Linked DNA regions of Homo sapiens: region 1 is linked to region 2. The links are contacts of gene promoters, found by promoter capture Hi-C in blood cells and fetal thymus (Javierre and others, 2016). All regions are on one chromosome and are shown on one strand. Each heading gives the region's core, a stretch centred on a gene start or on the middle of the fragment in contact. The rest is flanking DNA. Distances are from core to core; before and after follow the strand shown. Region 1 has its middle 22 kb from the start of LRRC52-AS1. Region 2 holds the start of RXRG (retinoid X receptor gamma).

Evidence for each region. The method cuts DNA at HindIII sites, captures the fragments that hold promoters and counts their contacts. A CHiCAGO score of 5 or more calls a contact.
Region 1: a contact is called between a fragment that was not itself captured here and the fragment with the promoter of RXRG in region 2, in 1 of 17 cell types (naive CD4 T cells). The highest score is 5.4, in naive CD4 T cells.

The regions. Positions count from the first base shown.
Region 1 is chr1:165,601,657-165,606,751 of GRCh38, reverse strand. No RefSeq gene overlaps it. Among named protein-coding and RNA genes, the nearest start is that of LRRC52-AS1, 22 kb to the right of the region's middle. RefSeq lists a silencer at 4,217-4,377. The HindIII fragment of the contact is 3,672 bases long and covers 1,672-5,095 here.
Region 2 is chr1:165,443,607-165,448,740 of GRCh38, reverse strand. RXRG (retinoid X receptor gamma) reads left to right here and starts at 3,615. Exons shown (of 10, transcript NM_006917.5): 1 at 3,615-3,896. The coding sequence starts at 3,848. The HindIII fragment of the contact is 7,493 bases long and covers 1-4,651 here.

The DNA.
Region 1 (5,095 bases), core at 2,258-4,757, 160 kb before region 2:
TTGTCCGCTTTCATGTTCCTCCCATACTCCTGGTTCCTCTTTGAAGTTCATAGTAGATAGCGGTAGAAGAAATAGTGAAAGTCTTAAAGTCTTTGATCTTTCTTATAAGTGCATGGAAGAAAACGCTGACATATACTGCCTTCCCTCTTTGCTTCGGCTACCTAAAAGGGAAGGGCCACTACCGGTCTCTGTGTCTTGGTGGTAGTGGTCCCCCGGGCCCAGCTGTTTTCTCTTTATCTCTTTGTCTTGTGTCTTTATTTCTTACAATCTCTCATCTTTGCACACGGGGAGAACACCTGCTAAGCCCTGTAGGGCTGGACCCTACACCTAATGATCATGTGTAGCTTCCTTCCTTCCTTTCTATTATAAGATGTTCCAGACTCATCTTGTACATTTCCTGCCCTAGATCTAGAATCAGCCATGATTTCTTTTAATGGAAAATAGATTTCAGATTCACAATATTGGCTCTAGAGATATTCATTGATACTAGGTTGATCATTATTTCTTGGCTTTTCAGTGGACAGAGCAAGGGAATTTTTAAAAGATAAAATACCTTACAAGTTAATATTGATACTTCTCTATTTCAAATTCAGCAACACAAGGTTTTAACTTAACTTCTTCTAATACTTTATCATTGTTCTTCCTTATTGATAATTGCCTTAACTTGCCATGATCAGTGGTCCTTTAGGGCTATAGATAGTTGGGTGAGGGTAGGACTGACTGATCCTGATGGAGCGAAGACACTGGAGGTACTCTTTGGGAAAAGCTCAGTTCCAATAGGGTAAGATATTATGGTTAGTAAGTTAGGCCTGAGCTTCTTCAAGTTATCACTGTACTAGAATTTAGACCATGTTAGTAAACTAAACCTAGGACAGGGTCAATAGTTGGGGTTCAAGAACAGGTATAGGGCTGCAACCAGTAAGCAACCAGTAACCAACAAGAACCAGGAAGGCACAGTCTGCCAGAGAGTCCAGGACAGTGGTTGGCAGAGGCTGAACAGGCAGAATGGAACATGGAAATCAATGAAATTCCCAAGGAGGCATAGCATCTTTAAACAACTTACCTAAAGAGTGAAGGTAGGGAGGGGTTTGGAGTCTTGCCAAGAAGTCATGGCTGCTGGTGGTGGTGGGCAGAGTTCAGGAACTTAAATCAAGACCTACTAGAGAAAACCAAATGGCTCACACAAATGTATGGTTGATCTAGGAGATGCTGGGGGTACCCACCCACATCTCAGCTGCAACCATTACCATGGATTACAATTTCCAGCTGTCAGCAGCTGCTATTCTTTGCCTGAGGGCACTCTCTGACTGCTGAAACCACTCTACCTGGGCATGCTGTAGATAGTGAATAACCTGAGGCTCCTCCACACCCCGCAGCTGCCTCCCAGATTGTATTTTCCAACCGGGTTTGGGTTCCTCTCTCTCCTTGTGCCACAGGCCCACGTATTTTCCAACCGGGTTTGGGTTCCTATCTCTCCTTGTGCCACAGGCCCACATGGACACTATATTCTAGTCAGTAGGATGTAGTTCCTCCAGCGGGTCATTCTGTTTCACATCTTTGTACCTTTGTACATGCTGTTCCCTCTGCTTCAATTCTCTTCTCCCATGCCAATCTTCTCCAACAATTCCTCTCATTCTTTAAAAATGTCTAAATGACCATCTCTTTGAAGCTTTCTTTCCTAGTTTCAGGGGTCTTTTTCTTATGTTCTTATAGCCCTAGGACATAATAAATATCCATTGAGTATTTGAATTAAGTATGGGCAACAGCAAGTAAGGATCCCAGGCACCAAAGCTCACACAGTTTCAATTCTGAGTGTCCTTCTGCCTCCATCAGCAAATTTCTTCCAGGAAGGATCCAATCTTAATAAGTTCCAAGCCAGCAAGTAGACACAGGGAAGCAGATACAATCTGGTTGGAGGCAATAGGAAAGGGCAGAAATATGAGACATGTCTTAATAACTCTCCCTATATTAGTTTTCTGGAATTACATAGCAAAGTACACCAGCTGGGTGGCTTAAACAACAGAAATTAATTTTCTCATAATTCTGGAGGCTGAAGTCTGAGATTAAGGTGTTGGCAGGGTTGGTTTCTTTGAAGACCGCTTTTTTTTTGGCTTGTAGATGGCCATTCTCTTCTGGTATCTTTACATGATCTACCTTTGGTATATCTGTGTCCTAATCTCTTCTCCTTAAAAGACACCAGTCATATTGGATTAGGGCCCATCCATATGACCTCATTTTACCTTAACTATCTTTTAAAGGCCCTCATTCCAAATACAATCACATTCTGAGGTTAGGACTTCAGCACATGAATTTTGTGGAGACACAATTCATTCCATAATACTCCCCCAATATAGAGAACCCATGTTCCTAACATTAAGTCCTGAAAAAACAACAGAGGTATCAATCCTGAGAGAGAGTTTCCAGGCTCTGGAGTCCTTAACTTGAGTCATGGGCTTTGTTTTTTAAACCTGTCTCTCTGTTTAAGGCCAGTACTAGAGGGCTAATAGGTTAAAGTCACAAAATGATTCTATTCCTTCATAGCTGTTATGATATCCCATAGCTAGTCTAGAGACCAAACTCCATCTAGGAAGTTCCTAGGACTGAGGGATGTTGTTGAGGTTGATTATTGGGAGATGAAGAAAATAACTGCAGTGAATTTCCAAAGATTATGCAGTGTCTCTTCCAGATTCGGAGTGACCAGGCACAGGCATCAGGGTTTGCAGAAAGAGCTGACTCAAGTAATCATTAACTTCTACCCAGAGCATCCTGGACACTGACATTTGCAGTGTCTCCGGGCTCTAAGAGGAGGTAATAGGGGCACTGGAAGGAAGCCACTCCTGAGGGAAGGATCACAGGGTAGTCTTTCTGCTGGGACCCTGTGCTTTGGGAAGTTGCTGAGCCCTTCCCACTCTAAACTAGCCATGTCTTTGGCTGAGGCCACTCCCTATTATTATTTTTTTAAAGACAGAGTCTCCCTCTGTCACCCAGGCTGAAGTGAAGTGGCGTGATCTCGGTTCACTGCAACCTCTGCCTCTTGGGTTCACGTGATTCTCATGCCTCAGCCTCCCAAGTAGCTGGGAATACAGGTGCATATCACCACACCCAGCTAATTTTTTGTATTTTTAATAGAGATAGGGTTTCATCATGTTGGCCAGGCTGGTCTCGAACTCCAGATCTCAAGTGATCAGCCCGCCTTGGCCTCCCACAGTTTTGGGATTACAGGCATGAGCCACCATGCCCAGCCCACTCCCTGTTTATATGTAGTCTTTGATTGAGGGACAGGAAACTGTTCTGCCTCTTCAAAAGGTCTGGAGAGGAAGGAGTTGTAGAGAATGCTCACAGAAGTGTAAAGCAATCCTATTTTAGTTCTTGATAGCCCCTGTTCCCCTAAAATCAGGAGATACTTTATTATTCACTTGCTGCCAGACTTCCATTAATTTATGAGAGTCATCATTGTAATAAGGTATAGAACATAGAATATTAACATTGGAAAAGACTTAAAGATCTAGTCCAGTCCCTCCTCCCCCTACTATTTTTGAGACAGGGTCTCACTCTGTTGCCCAGGCTGGAGTGCAATGGCATGATCTTGGCTCACTGCAGCCTGAACTTCCTGGGCTCAGGCAATCCTCCTGCTTCGGCCTCCCGAGTAGCTGGAACCATAGGCACAGGTGCATGTCACCACATCCAGCTAATTTTTTGATTTTTTTTTTTTGTAGAGTTGGGGTCTCACTTTCTTGCCCAGGCTGATCCCCAACTCCTAGGCTCAATCTATCCTCCAGCCTTGGCCTCCCAAAGCGCTGGAATTATAGGTGTGAGCCACAACACCTGGCCCAGTCCCCTTCATTTTGCATATGAGGGAAAAAGAGGAAACCAACATTTATTGAAGTAGATATTTTACATGTTACAAATCCTACAAGATGGATATTACCCTCATTTTATGGACAAAAGGATGCCACTCATAGAATTAATTAACTGGCCTAAACATACAAGCTATGTGCTAGGGGTGGGATTAAAATCCAGGTCAGTCTACTGACTCCTAGGCCACTTGTCTTTGGGTAATAATTCCTTAACAAACATCCAGTCAGGCACTGCTTTCTCAATTTTAATGCCCTAATCTATTTCCTCTATAGAAGATCATATCATCTAAAAAACTCAAACTGACTACTCAGGAAACTCTTGAAGATTACATAAAGTCAATCAACAGCCTTCTGTTACTCAGCCCTGTTGGACCCCAACGTGACTGGTGAAATGGCCAAACCAGTGGACTCTGCTGCATGCCTCACTTAGATTCCACTGAATGTGTGACTTGGAGATGCAGTGGAGGAGCTCACTTTTCTATTTTATTTATTTATTTAGTTTTTTTTTTTTGAGACAGAGTCTCACTCTGTTGCCCAGGCTGGAGTGCAGTGGTGTGATCTTGGCTCACTGCAACCTCCGCCTCCTGGGTTCAAGCGATTCTCCTGCCTCAGCCTCCCAAGTAGCTGGGATTATAGGTGCCTGCCACCATGCCTGGCTAATTTTTGTGTTTTTAGTAGAGGCGAAGTTTCACCATGTTGGCCAGGATGGTCTCAATCTCTTGACCTCGTGATCTGCTGGCCTCAGCCTCCCAAAGTGCTGGGATTACAGGCATGAGCCACCGTGCCCTGCCGAGCTCACTTTTCTGAAGGAGGAATTGCCGAGTACAGGACCAACAAGCAGGGTCACCTGCGAGTAAAGGGAATCCATGCTGAAACAATGAGAATTGAGACCTATTGAAAGAAAAGAGGAACTAGGGAAAGAGGACCACTGACTACGGAATGTGGGAGAAGAAAGGCACGAGGGTGTTTGCAAAGACAGCTTTTAAGGGTGCTAAGTTGTAAGAGGGCAGGGCAGCAGAGACAGAGCCCTTATGCAAAATGGAGTCACTTGGGAGGAAGGGAGTGCTCTGTGGCTGTTGTCCTATGCCACCTTGTGGCCACTTATCACTTCTCATCAAATGTTCCACCTTCTCTTATTCACTTTATATTTCTAATTACTCCTATATCCTGGAAAGTCAGCGTCACTTGAGTTTCACCCACAGCAATGCTTAATTTCAGTGGTGGATCTCAGGACACTG
Region 2 (5,134 bases), core at 2,366-4,865:
GTAAATGGGCATGAACAATGAACTACGTGTTAGTCCTTTTAGTGTTGTTATAAAGAAATACCTGAGGCTGGGTAATTTATAGAGAGAAAAGGTTTAATTGGCTGACAGTTCTGCAAGCTGTTAAAAAAAAGCATGGTGTCAGTGTCTGTTCAGCTCCTGGTGAAGCCCATGAGGCTTTCAATCATGGTGGAAGGCAAAGGGAGAGCTGGTGTGTCACATGGTGAGAGAGGGGTCAAGAGAGTGGAGGGGGAGGTCCCAAACTCTTAAACAACCAGATCCCCTGAGAGCTAACTGAGCAAGAACTCACGCATCACCAAAAGGATGGCACTAAGACATTCATGAGGGATCCACCCCATGATCCAATACCTCCCACTAGGCTCCACCTCCACCATTAGGGATCACATTTCAACATGAGATTTGGAGAGGAAAAACATCCAAACTATATCAAACCGGAAGTTGGAATGAACATACCGTACCCCTACAGTGGGCAAAACAGCCAGATCAGAAGGAACTCTCAGAGAAAGGGAGGAAAGAAAATCAGGAAAATATTAATTCTTTGCATTTGTTTTACAAAGCCATTGTATAGAACTTCGCAGTGTAAAAATGAGCACGTGCCCAACTCTCAACACATCTGATCCACAAAATCAAAACTAAATCCAGAAACCTTAGTGAGGCTGGCAGCATGGATGTTTTTCCCAGAGAGTGTGTATCCCAAGCCTTGTGATTACTGCCCCAAAGCACTTTCCTCTACATAGAGCTCACATGATAGGCCGAGACACCCCACAAATGGTGAGCCTTTTCCATGCCAGGTTAGGATTTGGTTTTTCTTCTGTGAGGAAAAGAAATAGACAATGTACTGAACTTAGAAAAAGGTGAAGAAAGAGTCTATCTGTTGGTGGCTTAACCAACAGATCATCTTGACAATGACCTTGGACAAGTCTGTAGACTGTGATTTTTAAAGAATGGTTTTTGAGTACTTGAGTACTTGGAAAAACCCTTGAAACATGGGTTCACACACACACAAAAAAACAGTTTAAGTAACTCATTTCCTTCTCTGACATGCGTACAATAGAAAACTGTAGATTGTAAGACACTTGCTTCAGATACCACTATGGAGAAAATGGACAATTATGGAATGGGTGATGCATTAGTCTGCGTTCAGTTTTAAAGCTGAAGATGATATTGGAACCCATGTAGCTCTGCTCCATCATTTTACAAATGAGAAAAAGGAGAGGAGCCATAAAGTGACTTGCTTAAGGTTACATCCTCTTCCTCTTTGACCTCCTCCTCCTCCCCATCATTTGCCTCAAATTAGATTACATGTATCGAGCATTTAGTATTTATCTGGCGTATTTCAAGTGCTTAACATGTATTGACTCATTTAATCCTCATGGTAACCCTATAAGGTAACTGAGGCTCAGGGAGATTTACTCATTTGCCAGTATCATGAGGCTGTAAGCAGCGGAACAGGGATTTGTACCCAGCAATGTTGGCTTGTGAGTTGGTGAGTTGGTGCTTTTACTATACATATAGCCTTTCAAGGCCATATAACTAGTGAGTAGCAGAGCAAAGTGTCTAAGGCACTAATGAATGGACTTTTTAGTGATATAAGATGTTGTCTTTGCTATGTCTATGTCAACATTTTTATCAATGAGTCGAATAAGATATGAAAAAGCAGTTCATCAGATTTTCAGAAGTCATGAAATAAGGGTATGAATAAGAAATATTTTGGACAACAGAAGCAGGATCCTAAAAGATTTGGGATGATGAATGAAGCCAAAAAGTTTTAACTTCAGAGGAATATAGGAAGCATTTCATGTAGGTCCCAAAACCAATTGCCCAAGGATGGGATGAAGAATATGCATAAGAGAACACAACTTAGGGGAGGTAGGGGTGGGGAGATTTTTATCGAGTTAGTTCTACATGAATTAACATGCAGAGCTGCCCACCTAATGCAAGTGAGCAAATGGTCCTCCTGTATTCTATATTACTTATGTCCACTGGACTCTCATCCCAGCAACAGTCAAGGCAGCTCTGGGCTCTCCAAAGCTCTTTACAGTGAAGGCCTGGATATTTCTTCCTCCTTTGTGACATGCTTTTGCTTTGATTCCCCATTTTGGCCTCCTCCTTTGTCATCATGACTTTGTTCCTGACTCTGGTCTTTTATTCTACGTTTTTGTTTTGGCTTCTCCTAGCATTTGAATCTTGATTTTTTACTCTGGGACCCTGATTTGACTTACCTCTCTGGCTCTCTATGTCTTATGCTGCATCAGGAGAAAATCTCTTATCTTTTTTCCAGCCCAACAGAGCTCAGCCCATGAAACGGACCTTCAATGGGTATGTTGACAGCACCCCATCACCGTGCCAACACATATACCATGAGGAAAAGGTTTGGACCATATCTGGAGTATTGCATCCAAGTCTGGCCAACCCCCTTCCTCACTGTGAGGGTATCTATGTAAACTGAAGTACATTATTAGAAAAAGGATAGGTTGGGAATAGACATGAACCCTTGGTGATACATAGAATTACTGAAAGAGCCAGAGATGCCTAGGGAAAGGGGGATTATGGGCACAGCAGATCAATCTCAGGATTTGCAGAGGATCCCACTGTGAAAGACTTTTTTGTCTTTCAGGCTTCTCTTGTGTGGCCCCTGGGAGCAGTCTAGCACCTGTGGGCAGAAGCTGTAGGGAAAAGGAGCAGATTTTATCTCTATAAGAAACTTTCTTGTGGTGAAAACTATCTAGAAATGGAATGAGAAAGTGGTGAGCTCCCCATTATTGGAGGTGTTCAAGTATAGGCTGAGCGGTGACTTGTCACGAAAACTGTATGACAGACCCAAACATCAACGGGGTGCTTAGATTCTTTGATCTCGGGTCAGTTCCACACAAGACAGGCTCTGTGTTAGTGAGGACCCAGTGGTGTTTTTGAACAGGCGGCAGGATAACAATGGTATATAAAATAAATGCAGAGAAAGACCTCCACATCAAGCCAACCCCTCCTCCCTACCTGTAAGTTTTCCACCTGAGTGAGCTCTGGCTCCAGCTGCACTTGTCAAACTCCCATTGTTAGAGCACAGATAAATGCTTCCGGCCACCCAAGCAGGAGAGGCCCACCTCAACTTAAGGGCTACTCTATTTTAGTTTTCCGTAGCTGGAGATTGAGTATCACGCTTTTCTAATCTTGTGCTTCTGAAAGGGCCCTGTTCTCTCTTGAACCCCACCCCCTCCTCCTTTCACAGATCAAATACCAAGTACATTGGACAGATAGAAGTTCGAATGAGAAAATGCATTTTAATAAAATCCCATTGATTTTTGTGGATGTAAGTCAAGGAACAGGCACCTAAAGAGTCTTCCATCCCCTGCCGTCTCCCGCCTCTCTCCTGACCTACACCGGGCGGTCATACATCGATTGGCTTCCTAGATAATAGATCGTGCCACCCGGTAGGGACCTCTGGGGACGCGCCGGGAGCTGGAAGAGTCGCACGCAGCAGCCCAACCCTGAGTTAATCAAACTAGCAACAGGATCTCAAGCAGCAGCGACGGCGGTGGCAAGAGTAGCGGTGACGGCGGCGGCGGCGGCGGCGGCAGCATTATGCGTGATTACTGACAGGCACCAGCTGCTGCCGCCACAGCCGTCTCAAACGCACTATGTGGACTCTCCGATCTAGAGGCAGATTCCTGACTAATCCCAGAGGGCTGGCCCAGCCTGTGCTCCCCGGGCTGCTAGGAAGCGATGACCACTCTTGTTAGCCCAAGTTGAAGAAAGCCGGGCTGTGCCTGGGAGCCGAGAGAGGCGGTAATATTTAGAAGCTGCACAGGAGAGGAACATGAACTGACGAGTAAACATGTATGGAAATTATTCTCACTTCATGAAGTTTCCCGCAGGCTATGGAGGTAAGTATCTCCCTTGGGCTTCACTGCGTGGACCTGTATGAGAGACTGAGAAGAAATTGGGAAATACGAATGACTGGATTAGTATTGAATTAAAAGGAGAACATATATGTTTATATGCATATATAGTGTGTATATAGCGTTTCAGCGTGTGTGTGCACGCGTGCATGAGAGAGGAGAGGAGGAAAGAATGGTCTGTAGGTGAGGATACGTTTGCATATCAGAATGAGGATACGGGGATATTCTAAGGAGAGAGTAAACCAACATGCTTGAGAATGTGTCTGAGACAAAGATAGAATAAGAGCATTGTTATAACCCAGTGTGTTTGTGCGGGTGTGAAAAGTGGAAGAGTTAACGGGGAATTACTATGATGTTCCTATTAGCCAACTTGTAATGAGAAAAAATGTGATTAAAAAGGTTTTGCCTATCTTGAGGGTTCCTGGGATACTTTGTAACAAGGGCATGATTGTTTTACTCAAAAGCAGATTTCCCTTTAATTGGATTTTTAAAAAGAAAACATAGTGCTTTAATTTGCTACTGTGTTTTCCTTCCCCTGTTTTCTTTCCTTTGATTTGCTAATAGCCTCTTCTCTCCTCCCCTGCTGCTGCCCCCAATTCTACTGCAAGAGTTGCTGCAATCACTTCCACTCTGGGGGTAGAGATCTGGGGATGGGGGGTTGGGGCTCTTAGAGAATTGGCAAACTGAAGATTCAAGTCACCGTGCCAGGCAGGGCAGCCCAGTCACACTTCACAGAAGCTTCCGGAGACTAGGTCCTCAGGCTGCCTTAACGCCCAAGCACATCCGTCCCAAGGATCCCTTGATTTAGTGACAGAAACAGTACAGCCGCCCAGCTCTGAGTAAATGGAAGCAACAGCTGACCAACTGGCCTGTCGCTTGTCAGTTGGAGGCATGCAGCTTATGTTGCTGGGAGCCAAAGAAAGATTCTGGCAGGCAAGACAGCAGAAATTCTTATAAGGTTTTGAAAATTGAAAAGTCCCTGCTCTCCAGACTTCCTCCGTGGACCAATTCATCTGAAGGCTTGGGACTAAAGCTTGCCTAACTTGGCTGGGCAGAACCCCCTGGGAGGCATGGTGACACACTGCAAGGTAGAAGTGATCTCTGTCACCAGGAGGTGTTAGACCTGGGAGTTTGCACATTCATTCAGGGTAGTTTTTATGAGGCAGGCATGGTGTTGGGCACTGGGAATACAAATATGAATGAGACACAGTCTCTGCCCTTTG